Regions from separate parts of the Homo sapiens genome. Here regions 1 and 3 are each linked to region 2. Evidence: promoter capture Hi-C in human tissues and cell types (Jung and others, 2019). All regions are on one chromosome and are shown on one strand. Each heading gives the region's core, a stretch centred on a gene start or on the middle of the fragment in contact. The rest is flanking DNA. Distances are from core to core; before and after follow the strand shown. Region 1 overlaps SYT9 (synaptotagmin 9). Region 2 holds the start of CYB5R2 (cytochrome b5 reductase 2). Region 3 has its middle 5.2 kb from the start of SYT9.

What was found. The method cuts DNA at HindIII sites, captures the fragments that hold promoters and counts their contacts. A contact is called where the count stands out against the background at its distance.
Region 1: a fragment that was not itself captured here is called in contact with the fragment with the promoter of CYB5R2 in region 2 in 1 of the 25 tissues and cell types used here (lymphoblastoid cells).
Region 3: a fragment that was not itself captured here is called in contact with the fragment with the promoter of CYB5R2 in region 2 in 2 of the 25 tissues and cell types used here (dorsolateral prefrontal cortex and hippocampus).

What each region holds. Positions count from the first base shown.
Region 1 is chr11:7,304,391-7,308,557 of GRCh38, reverse strand. All of the region lies in intron 2 of SYT9 (synaptotagmin 9), which reads right to left. Among named protein-coding and RNA genes, the nearest start is that of SYT9, 55 kb to the right of the region's middle. RefSeq lists an enhancer at 567-716. The HindIII fragment of the contact is 3,938 bases long and covers 749-4,167 here.
Region 2 is chr11:7,671,742-7,675,863 of GRCh38, reverse strand. It overlaps CYB5R2 (cytochrome b5 reductase 2), which reads left to right and starts at 2,364. Exons shown (of 9, transcript NM_016229.5): 1 at 2,364-2,445; 2 at 2,973-3,116; 3 at 3,341-3,413. The coding sequence starts at 3,039. RefSeq lists a silencer at 1,852-2,061 and enhancers at 2,582-2,681, 2,702-2,751. The HindIII fragment of the contact is 10,078 bases long and covers 1-4,122 here.
Region 3 is chr11:7,244,676-7,248,714 of GRCh38, reverse strand. It overlaps a transcript of SYT9 not described here. Among named protein-coding and RNA genes, the nearest start is that of SYT9, 5.2 kb to the left of the region's middle. The HindIII fragment of the contact is 9,657 bases long and covers 1-4,039 here.

The DNA.
Region 1 (4,167 bases), core at 1,468-3,967, 370 kb after region 2:
CATTTGCATCTTGGTCCTACCTCTCTAGCAGAATGGGACTTTCAGCTCTTCTGCCCCAGCAGCTTTTTCTAGAGTCCCTCATATACACCCACTGCATCTCTGAGTCCAGGCTCTGTACAAGCCAGCACTCATATCCCCAACACCCCTTCCATCGCGGGCTTTCATGTGAAGCCATGAACAAGTGCACCCTAATATATGTTCCTTCACTGCAGTGGCCCACCTCAGAGGTGAAACCTGACCTGTCCTTTCCCTGGTTCTCGGGCACCAGTGTCTACAAGGCTTCAGGATCCAAGGAGAAAAAAGAGAGAAGCAAATTGTGGTTTCAGAAATGTTACTGGTTTCTTTCCTATGTTCAAGTCAAGGCAGGGAATTATGGAAATGGTGGAGACAGGATGTTTTTCTTCAAAACTCCCCTGGTGATGAAGAAGAGAGAGTTAGGTTTTCCTGAACCACAGGCAGACACAGAAGAAGGGGAAATCCTGGATAGGGACAGACACAGTTAGTAGACTACAAGGGCAGGAGGAAGTGAAAATCTGAGGCTTTCTTGGGCTGAAGATTCAAGGGTTTCCAGCATAAGTGAGATAATGACGAGACAGGCATCAGGCCTTGGGGCCAGTGGAGGTGTGTTGTCAAGGGTAGGTGGATACACTGAGGCAAGACCTGCTTCCTCCCACTCCCTCCAAAGTTAAACGGATTTGAAACCTTGAATACTTTATCCTCCATAACTAAGATGAGCCTTTGTTCACCAAAACTTTCTCTACAGTAGCTCACGTCTTATGTCTCTTTTCATTCCCATTGATCCTAGCTGAGTTCAGGCCCTCAGACAGGCCCCTGTATACATCCAATCTTCACCACTGTCCCATGCATCTTATGCATTCTTTCCAGATTAATCTTCTAAAGAACAAATTGAGCACTTCAGTGTGTATAATTGGTGCTCTTGCTGTGGGTCTTTTGTGGGCATGGTTATATATTTTTTCTCTCTTTATTGCCACCACCTAATATTGAATTTTGCCATAGCAAATGCTTGATATCTGTGTCTAGAGTAAATATAGAAATGCTATGGATATAATAGTTTCTGATAATTTAATCCCAGTAGAGAAAACACTCATTTACATATCATTTCGGGGTCTCGTGGAAGTTGAGATAGGTCTAGGCAACTTCCACTTTTGAAGCAGTTAATTTAAATCTGAAGAAATAACTATAATTCAAAAATTATGTTTTAGATGTTTACATTGAACCAATGTTCTCACCACACAAAAATATAACTTAATAGAAATGTGCTACTCATAGTATAATTACATTCAATTTTTGTGTACTATTTACTTGAGTTGTGGCCAGTCATGGGACCTAAATTTAGAGTGTGATGGTTATCTTCCTCTTTCAATTCTGTCAGCATATTTCTGTAACTCTACGGATTGCTTAATTCAGAGGTAAGGTCAAAAACCTAATGTGGGGCTCTTAATGAATGTGAGACCTGGGACAAATGGCCTTCCGCCAGCCTCACACCATTATTACAGGCTCTGCTCAGTTTATACTTCTGGCCCTTTGTCATTCTTGTCAGAAGAGCATGAGAAAAGTGGCCTGATATTGACCAATGTATTCTGTCAGTCATTCATGGAAAAAAGTCCTCCATGTGCCAGGTGGTGCTAGGGGCTGGATAGACAGGAAGAAACAAAACAGATGTGGTCTCTGAGCTCACAGAACTCAGTCTAGAGGGGAGTACAAGCAATAAAGAATCACTTAAAATAATTTAATCCTGTGAAGGCATGAAAACAAGGCAATGCGAGGGAGAATTAAAGTGGGAAGGAGTGGGGGACAGAACACAGACTTCAGATGGAGTGGCCGGGGAGAACTTTCTGAGAAGGTGATGTTTCAGCTAGGGTGTAAGGGAAGTAAAGGTCCCAAGAAGGACAAAAAAAGGAAAAGCATTCCTGGCTGAGGGAACAACGTGTGAAGACCTCAAGGCAGGAAGGGGCTTGGGATGCTGAAGGAACTAAGAGAGAGGCTAGTGCAGCTGCAGTACAACAAGCTTCTTCCAGGCAGTCTCCTATTGAGTTCATGTTAAAATAGTCCCCTAGGGTTCTGCAACATGGTGGCCTTGGCCATAAGGTGAGGCTGTTGGAAGCAGACTGTGGCAGTATTAAAATGCAGGGCCTTAATAGACCTGATAAGGGGTTTGTGGTGTGGTAATTGAAATTTTTGAAAAACTGAAGTGTTACATAAGACATTTGAGAAGGCTTGAGAAAAATAGGATGAACTTTCATCTTAGGACATGAATCAGGAAATGGATTAGATGGCCTTTCAAGGTTCCTTCTATTTTGGGGATCCAGGGATTTTCATACATTTGGAGTAGAGAACTTTATAAAGCTCTGGAATTAAAAAATTCTGAGAAAATTGAAACATCCACATTTCCAGCATATTGAGTCACTGTACAAAAGGGACTTCATTCAAATCAAAAAGAATTGACAGGAATTTTGGATGGTACTAATAGTCACTGAAGAAACTAGACACCGAACATGCTTGATCTTGAAAGAACAACAGAAAGTCATTCTGACCAGAAACATTCTTAGAAGATAAAACAAAGCCCATCTTTAGGACATTTCAAAAAGGCACTGTGTCAGCCAAACATATCCAAGAACACATCCAAGCCGAAGAGGCCAGGTGAGGTTGAGATTTTTGATGTCAATGGTGTGACAGAAACTGTGCCAATCACAAGGATCCTGAAGACACCTTTAAATGGAGGCTGTGTCTTTCGTGCACTGGGAACCCTGAGACTGTGATCATGGCTGTCCTGAGACGGTGATAATGGCTGCAGGATGGAAGCAGTAAGACGGTGTCGGCAGGGAGAAAGTAAAGAACATAATGAGAAAGAAAAGAGAAGAAACAGTAACTGGAAAAGCAGACTGTTTAGAGCTTTCTCAGCAAAGCTTACCTTTCCCCTCCCCAAATATGGGTATCGAAAATGTTAAAGAAGAATGTTAAAAATGCTTTGAGGCATAAAGGAAATTTCATTCTCTTTTTCCTTTTTGTTAGCAAAAAGTGTGTATGTGTGTGTGCATTTTCTCATGATGCAACACAATCCTCAAAGAATTAGAAGACCATGTACTGCTCTTATTGTGGTGAGATCCTGAGACAAGGATATATATTTCCAGACAGACCCCATAAAACTAGGTCAGTAGTAACTTAGGTATGAATGTTTTAAATGCATAAAAATGCAAATTGTCAGTATTAGGTCAAATGCAGCTAGAAAAGAGTAGTTTTCTTATAGTAGTTCAGATATTGCTAAACTTGATTTTTGCCATCAGAAAAGATAATGTAATTGCATGCCTTCAAAACTAAAATAAATCTGAACACAAAGTGCATTTTACAGGGATAATTCCTTCACTCTCCCTTTTAATTTTTTTCCTTCTACCCAATTTCTACAAATCAGTAGTGATAACAGTTATTTTTTAAGCAAATCCTTATTGCTATGCAGTATATTTATATACTTTCCCAGTATAAATATTGTGATAATTATAGTGGCATCATTGCTATCAGTTTGTTAGAATTATGGCAGAGTCCCCAGATCAAATCTAGCAAGATCACAGTACTACCACCATATATTGGAGGAACTCAGACCAGAAAAGTTACATGCAGAGTAGAACCAAATAGGGGGCAATTTCAATGGAAATTTCAATGGAGACTCTATCTAAAAGGCTTTAGCTATTGAAATACTGAAAGGATTTTATTATAAGTCTGCACATTGCATGAACTCTATGACAGCATCAAATAGAGCTCTAGTTATATTTAAGTTTTAAATCTGAAGATAAATCCTAGTGATAAAATCTGAGGATTTCTTCTAAATCAAACGGCAGACAACTACCCATCTCCTCACAGAGGCATATTTTAGATTTGGCTCTTTGATTCAGAATTGAAAATGATGCTAAAATAAGTTTCTGAAACAATCAAATTAGAAACTGGCATATTCCATCCCACTTAATGAGAATGAGTGGAGCCTCTAGGATAAACTCGATTAACATAAAAAGGGTAAAGTCTTATTTCTGTTTCTGGAGAACAAACAGCAAATATTTTTAAAAAATACCTCCAAATTGTGTTTATACCTTCCAAATAACAGCACATGCTATTTCTCTGGCCATCACTCAGGCCAATATTTTCATTCTAAAGAAA
Region 2 (4,122 bases), core at 1,115-3,614:
TTGTAAACTACCGTAACTAAAACAGTGTAGTATTGCGACAAGGTTGGGCAGCTAGATAATGTAAGAGAAATGGGAGGCCGGAGCTAGACTCACACACCTATGAAAACTGATATAGGCCAGGGGTAGCAGGTCAGTTGCAGGTCAGTGGCCAGATGTGAGCAATTCAATAAATGTTACTGAAAAACACACATTAGCCACATGGAAAAATGAAATTGTATCCCTGCCTCACATCCTACACAGAAATCAATTCCAAGTGGTTGAAAAACTTAAATGTGAAAGGAAAATCTTTAAATCTTGTTGGGGAAAATATAGAATATCTTTAAGGGCTTGGGTAGAAATAGACAAGTCACAAAAATCACTAACCATAACGGCAAAAAAATTGAAGATTGGTATATTTGGTTATACTGCAATTCAAATTTCTATTCATCAGACTACACCACAAAAAGGTGGGACAGAAAAGAAAGAAAGAAAAAAGAAAGAATAAGTTACAAATTACGAGAAAACATTACTAATTCATGTAACTGGCAAAGAAGGGATATCTAAAACATATAAAACCCCTAAAAATCAGTAAGAAAAAGACAACAGAAAAATGAGCAAAATTTATGAGCAGGCATTTTTTTTTTTCTGAAAAGGAAACTCCATGGGAAATAAATATATGAAAGGTGCTCAAACTTATTAGCAGTTATTAGGTAATGCAAATTGGATTCCTGATACATCATTTTACACTTATCGCATTGTCAAAAATTAAAATATCTGCCTATAATAACCAAGCACCTGCAGGTAAATCAAAAGTAAAGGCATTTGATTAAGTCAAAGAGAGAAAATTAAGTTTGTTTATTCATTCACACAGCAAGAATTTTTGAGCCTGTGGTGGTGTGTGTCTTGGGGAGAAGGGTTGGTAAAGTGTTATGGGTTATTGTTTTCACCCTGATTCTTATGTTGAAGCCCTAAGCCCCAGTACCTAAGGATATGACCTTATTTGAAGGTAGAGCCTTTACATAGGTAATCAAGTTAAAACAAGGTCATTAGGATGGACCCTAATTGAATATGACTGGTGTCTTCATAAAAGGGGAAATTTGGACACAGGGACACACACAGAGGGATGAAAATGTGGAGACATAGGAAGAAGATGCCCCTTCTCCTAGCCCCTCTCCTACAAACCTAGGAGAGGCATGGAACAGATCCTTCCCTCACAGCCCTCAGAAGGAACCCACTCTGCCCACACCTTGATTTTGGACTTCCAGCCCCCAGACCTGCGAGACAATAAATTTTTGTTGTTTAAGCCGCTCAGTCTGCGGCACTTTGTTACAGCAGCCCTAGCAGAGTCAAACAGGTGGGGATCTGCTTCTGGGCTTCTCTGTTTCACACAGGTCCTGAGGCAAGAATTTGCCTTTGCCTGTAATCAAGGGCGAGCCGGGCAGCCAAGGTTCCGAAACGCACCGTGAAGACCCTCTAACTGTGCCTACTATTCTGCTCCCCTCCGATCGGCGCGGGGCTCTTGTCCTTCCTCTCTCCACCCAGCGAATGAATGAACGCAGGAGCGCTCGGAGTACACGTCTTCAACTCGGCGACGCCCCTGCTTCGGCCCCACCCCGCAAACACCCGCCCCGGACCAGGCCCAGGGTAGGCGCCCATGAGGTATGTCGAATGAATATATTCGCGCGCTCTTTGCAGCTGCCTGAATTCTTCCTTCCCCAGCATCCCCCTCCGCCCGGTCACCCAGACGGCCTTCTCCAGCCTTGCCGAGCTTAAGTAAGCTGAGGGGCGCTCAGTGTGGCAGCTCTGCGTGTGCAGGGAAGGGGCCAGGATGCAGAGGGGCAGCGCAGGAGCGAGGACGCCACGGCTCAGCGCCCCGCCAGCCTCATGATGGAGCGCTGCCCTGGGGGCAGGGCTGACCCAGAGCCAGCGGCTCGTGAGTGAGAGCCCCCCGACCACGGCCCTTCTCGGGGAGCGGGCCAGCCGCCGGGGTCCCAGCCTGCGGGGTCCGCCCGCGCTTTTGTCCTCCCGGGCGTGCGTGTCCGGGTCTCGGCCGGTTCCCCGTCGGCCAGGCGGAGCTGCGGGGCGACGCCACGAGTCTGCGGGCCCGCGGCGGGGAGCGGCCCCCGGCCAACCCCAGTTCGACGACGTGTTGGGCGTCTCACTCCGGGTGGGTTCCGCGGCGGGGTGTATTTATGGAGTATTGAAGAAATATCTCCGTCGGGACGGCCGGAAGGAAAGAGGCCAGAGGCGCGGAGGCCGGCTAGAGCCGGGAACGAACGTCCGACCGGGAGGTTGGGGGCCGGAGCGGGAGGCGTGGGGAGAGGTCGTGGGCGGGACCGCGAAGGGCGGGGAGTGGGGCGGGCCGGCTCGGATTCCGGAAGGCTGAGACTCCAGTGACCCGGCGGGAGGAGAGGCAACTTTCCCTGTCGGGCTTGAGTTGGGAGAGGAGCAGGGCGGCCTTGTAGGGTAGGGACAGATGCGGGGAGGCTCCCGAGTCTCTGGCAGTTGAGTGCCCAGGCCCCCTTCGCCCTGTCCAGGAGACTGTTGGGGAGTCCCCAGGCCCTAAGTCACGGGGCACCTCTTAGAGCTACGCACCCTAGTTCTGTCTTTAGGGACTGGGCCCCTCATTCCGGATTGTGTGTTAGGGGTGATGTCCTCCCCCTTCACCTCAAGGAAGGGACTTCCAGTGTATGAACCTTTGGCTGTAGCCAGGAGGGGCCTAGTGACCTGAGCACCCCAGGCCATGTGTGCTGCCTGCTCCAGGGGCCTGAAACATCCTTCCTGTGTGACCTGCAGCTGACCCCTCCCTACCCTCTGGTCCACGACAGGCTCTCCCAGCCGCCTTCTGTGTCACTACTGTTCTCTTTGCCTATTTCCTGCAGGCAGAGCTCAGCTCCTGTGCCTTTGGTGTGGGGAGGGTGTTCTGCGCCTGAGAGCTGCCCTGTCCAGGGCGGGCAAGACCTGAGGTGCTCTGTTCACATTGTGTCTGCCAGGACCCGTCCCTGCTCCTGACCATCACCGTCACTGGGGTCACTGTGCTCGTGTTGGTCCTGAAGAGCATGAACTCCAGGAGGAGAGAGCCAATCACCTTACAGGACCCTGAAGCCAAGTACCCGCTGCCCTTGATTGAGAAAGAGGTAATGGGTCAGCCCTGTGGGTGGAAGGCAGTAAGTGGATGATGGCTGGGATGGCAGGGCATCCAGACAGTCATCTCATGGCCTCCAGTTCACTCCCCGCCGCCCTGTGTGTGTGTGTGTGTGTGCTGGAATAGCGCCAAACGGACCTCCTTTCCCAGGCATCTCAGCTGCCCAGCAAGGCTTCTAGAAAGCTGACAGAACCTGCCTATGTTTTGTTTTATCAGAAAATCAGCCACAACACCCGGAGGTTCCGCTTTGGACTGCCTTCGCCGGACCATGTCTTAGGGCTTCCTGTAGGTGAGCCGGGCTTGGGTCATCACCAGGACTGGGGCCTCTGGGGGCTAGGCCCTCCTCTCTTAACAGAAACACAGGTTTCCCACGTCCTGAGGTGTGGAAGATGCCCTCTTGCTCCTCCTGAGCCTGTGAGCTCAGGGAGATAGATAGGGGGATGGATGTGGGACAGAAAATTTCTTTTCTTCATTATTCCAATTGGGCTGACACGAGAGTGGTACCTCAGTGAGCATTGAAAAGAACTGAACCTAGAGCCAAAAGGCCTAAAATCTCATGGAAGGCTCCTTGCTGGGGAACTTAAGGGAAGTCCTTCAATCTCTCTGAGCCTCAGTCTATGAAATGGGATTTCCCAGGCCTGCCTGTCTACCTCACTTGGGTTGTTGTGAAAGTAGAGTGACTGATGGATATGAAAATTCAGAAACTACAAAGTATTGTGCACCTGGGAGGGATGGGAGGAACCAGTGGTCGGGGAAAGGCCCAGAATGTGCGGGTAGGCAGGAATGAGTCAGGTGTGCCCTGCCCCCAAGGTCACTTAGATTCTCTGCAGGGGCCTCAGACCCACATAAGGAGGGACCAGCCCTACGAGTTGCAGATTCCAGCCCTAGGAGTCCTAGAGTTGAGTTATCCCATTTCTAATCTGTAACACCACTAGATAGCTGAGTCAGTCTTAGTGCAGTAGAAAACTGCTAGAATCAGGGATTCAGAGCAGCTTTGT
Region 3 (4,039 bases), core at 756-3,255, 430 kb after region 2:
AGCATGGGACATGTTTCCATTTGTTTGTGTCATCTCTGATCTCTTTCAGCAGTGTTTTGCAGTCTTCCTTGTAGAGGTCTTTCACCTCCTTGTTTAGGTATATTCCTAAGTATTTTATTTGGAAAGGACACCCTTTTCAACAAATGGTGCTGCAATAATTGGCTAGCCACATGTAGGAGAATGAAACTGGATCCTCATCTCTCACCTTATACAAAAATCAACTCAAGATGGATTAAGGACTTAAATCTAAGAGCTGAAACTATAAAAATTCTGGAAGATAACATTGTAAAAACTCTTCTAGACATTGGCTTAGGCAAGGATTTCGTGACCAAGAACCCAAAAACAAATGCAATAAAAACAAAGATAGATACATTTCTGGGACTTAATTAAACTAAAGAGCTTTTGCACAGGAAAAAAAAAACAGCAGAGTAAACAGACAACTCACAGAGTGGGAGAAAAATCTTCACAATCTATACATCTGACAAAGGACTAATATCCAGAATCTACAACGAACTCAAACAAATCAACACGAAAAAAACAAACAATCCCATCAAAAAGTGGGATAAGGACATGGATAGACAATTCTCAAAAGAAGATATACAAATGGCCAACAAACATGAAAAAATGGTCAACATACTAATGAACAGGGAAATTGAAATCAAAAGCACAATGCGATACCACCTTACTCCTGCAAGAATGACCATAATCAAAAAATCAAAAAACAGTAGATGTTGGTGTGGATGCAGTGAACAAGGAACAATTCTACATTGCTGATGGGAATGTAAACTGGTACAACCACTATGGAAAACAGTGTGGAGATGCCTTAAAGAACTAAAAGTAGAACTACCATTTGATGCAGCTGTCCCACTACTGGGTATCTACCCAGAGCAAAAGAGGTCATTATACGAAAAAGATACTTGCACATGTATGTATATAGCAGCACAATTCACAATTGCAAAAACACAGAACCGACCCAAATGTCCATCAATCAATGAGTGGATAAAGAAACTGTGATATATATATATATATACACACATATATACGTATATATACATATGTATATATATATATCACGTATATATACACGTATATATACACGTATATATGTATATATACGTATATATACACATATATATGTATATGTGTATATATGTGTATATACATGTATACGTGTATATATATGTATATATGTGTGTATATATGTATATATGTGTATATATATGTGTGTGTATATATATATGTATATATATATGATGGAATACTACTCAGCCATAAAAAGGAATGAATTAACGGCATTCATAGTGACCTGGATGAGACTGGAGGCTATTATTCTAAGTGGAGTAACTCAGGAATGGAAAACCAAACATCTTATGTTCTCACTCACAAGCAGAGCTAAGCTGTGAGGATGCAAAGACATAAGAATGACACAATGGACTTTGGGGACTCAGGGGAAAGGGTGGGAAGGGGGCAGGAGATAAAAGACTTCAAATAGGGTGCAGCGTATAGTGCTTGGGTGATGGATGCACCAATATCTCACAAATCATCTCTAAAGAATTTAATCATGTAACCAAACACCACCTGTTCCCCAATAACCTATAGAAATAAAAAATAATTTTTAAAAAGAGTCATCAAAGAGTTTGCTTTCTCTCTGCCATGTGAGGACACAGTGAGAAGGCAGCTCTCTGCAAGCCAGGAAGAAAGCCCTCACTAGAAATGGAATTGGCTGCAACCTTGAGCTTGGACTTCCCAGACTTCTGACTGTGAGAAAATAAATTTCTATTGTTTAAGCCACCCAGTATATGCTATTTTGTTACAGTAGCCCTGGAAGACTAAAATAGATGCCTCAGTCAACAGCCAGCCCAAGACCTCACACATGTGAGTGAGGCCATGGACCTCTCGAACTTGGACCTTCCAGCCCACAAATGAGCACAGCAGACAATAAGTGAAGCAGAGGTGAACCATCCCCATTTACCAAATTTCTCACCCACAAAATCATGAGCAATAAAATGGTGGTTGTTTTAAGTCATAGAGTTTGGGAGCAACCTTTTAATGCAGCAGTAGACATCTGAAATAGGCAAAAAACTGGTAAATGATAGAAACAGGACTGGAATCCACATCTTTGTGGCTCCAAAGCCTCTGTTCTTCTGCAATTATAGTAGAGTGGTGAGGGTGGAACCAGCTGAACACAGGATTAAAAAGTACATGGAAATTGAAGAAGTAGAGTTAGCTGAAATATGTTACCTTTCCCCAACTATTTGTTCTTTCATTCATTGAACAAATATGTATTCTTCTATGATTCAGAAAGCATGACAGAGGAAGTCCCCTGTGACTCAGGAAGCCTTCCAGGTCCTGGGTAATATATAGAGAAATAAACAATGATCCTTGCTCTCTAAGGCAGTGCTTCTCAGTCTTGTACTTGTCGTGGCATAGATAGAAAGTGAACTTTTTACAGCACATGGGGGTAAGGGACTAGGCCACTGGTGGCCAGCAGGGACTGTGGCAGAAGGAATCAAAGTCTCAGCCCAGGTATTACCCATTCTGTGGCACATCAAGCTTCCCTGGTGCCCTGGTTAGGAAGTTTTGCTGTTTAGACCTACCAAGTAGAAGTAAAAGTAAATCTTTTGAGAGAAGGACAAAGAGAAGATGGTAACTGAAAAAAAAAAGTGCATAGAAGAAAAGCTGTTTGAAGATAGGAGCGACTTCAGAATGTTTTTATCAATGTTTCCCAAAGTAAGGTTCACTTGCCTTCTTTTCTGAAATTGCCTGGATTTCTTATGAAAATGCTGGTTCCTCGGATTCACTCAGACCTACACAATTATTTCGTAAAGAGCATCCCAGATGCTATGGTTGGACAAAAATACATGTTGAAATTTAATTGCCATTTTAACAGTATTAAAAGGTAGAATGTTGATGAGATGATTAGGCCATGAGGGCTCCACTTGCATGGGTAGAATTATGCTGTTATAAAAGGGTGAGTTTGGCCCCCTTTTGTCTCTTTGCCCTTCCACCATCTACGATGTGATGATACAGTAAGAAGGCCCTTGCCAGATGCCAGTGCCTTGATCTTAGACTTCCCAGACTCCAGAATTATAAGACAATAAATGTTTTTTCTTTTTAAATTACCTAATCTCAGGTATCCTGTTACAGCAGTACAAACAGAATAAGACACTGGGTAATGCTTCTGAACAATGAAATTTGAGAACCTCCAGTTTATATGCTGACGAAAAAAGCCTTTGGTGGGTGACGGAATAGAACCCTGACTCAAAAAACAAAAACAAAAACAAAAAAAAAAGAGAGAAAAGAAAAGAAAAAGGCCTTTGGAAAAAGATCTTTGAAGTCACCTACAATGTCCCTGAATGATATACATTAATGATTATAACTAATCATTATTAAGCATTTGTTATATACCATCATGCACTTGATATATGTTGTTGCATTTAATCCTGGCCACCCAGCAAGGCACACATTATGTTTCCATTTTACATTTACAGATGAGGAAACAAGAACAGAGAAGTTTAGTAACTTCTCCATGGAACTTCTCCAGCTTATTGGAGACAGCCAGCATTCAAATTCAAATTTGTCTGGCTCCAGAGCCTGTGTTTTCCATGCCACACTGCTGCTCCAAGTCACGTCCAGAACACAAATATCCGGTATCTTTATCCACTTTTTGTGTGACATTGCTCAGGTTCTCTCATCATCTTATCTGTCTTCTACGTGTGCTGCAATTGGTCAAAATCCTTTCTGAAATAGAGTTCCTGAGCTGAGCCCAGCACTCCTTCACCCTTTAGCATCAACTTCCTGCTCTCTCTGTGCCTCAGGCTTCTGAGTTGCTGCTTGGGTTACAGCATCTCAACATGCCATGGATGAAATCCCATAAATCTTTCATGCTGCTCTTAGACCACATCCTTACCCCTGTTCCTGTGAGCTAGATTCCGTACTTTGGGAAATGGTGTGGGATTCTTAACAGCAAAACTTTCTATTAATTGTCATTTTGTTTTATTCAGTTACTTGCCAGATAGTTGCCTTTAACAAAAGAAAA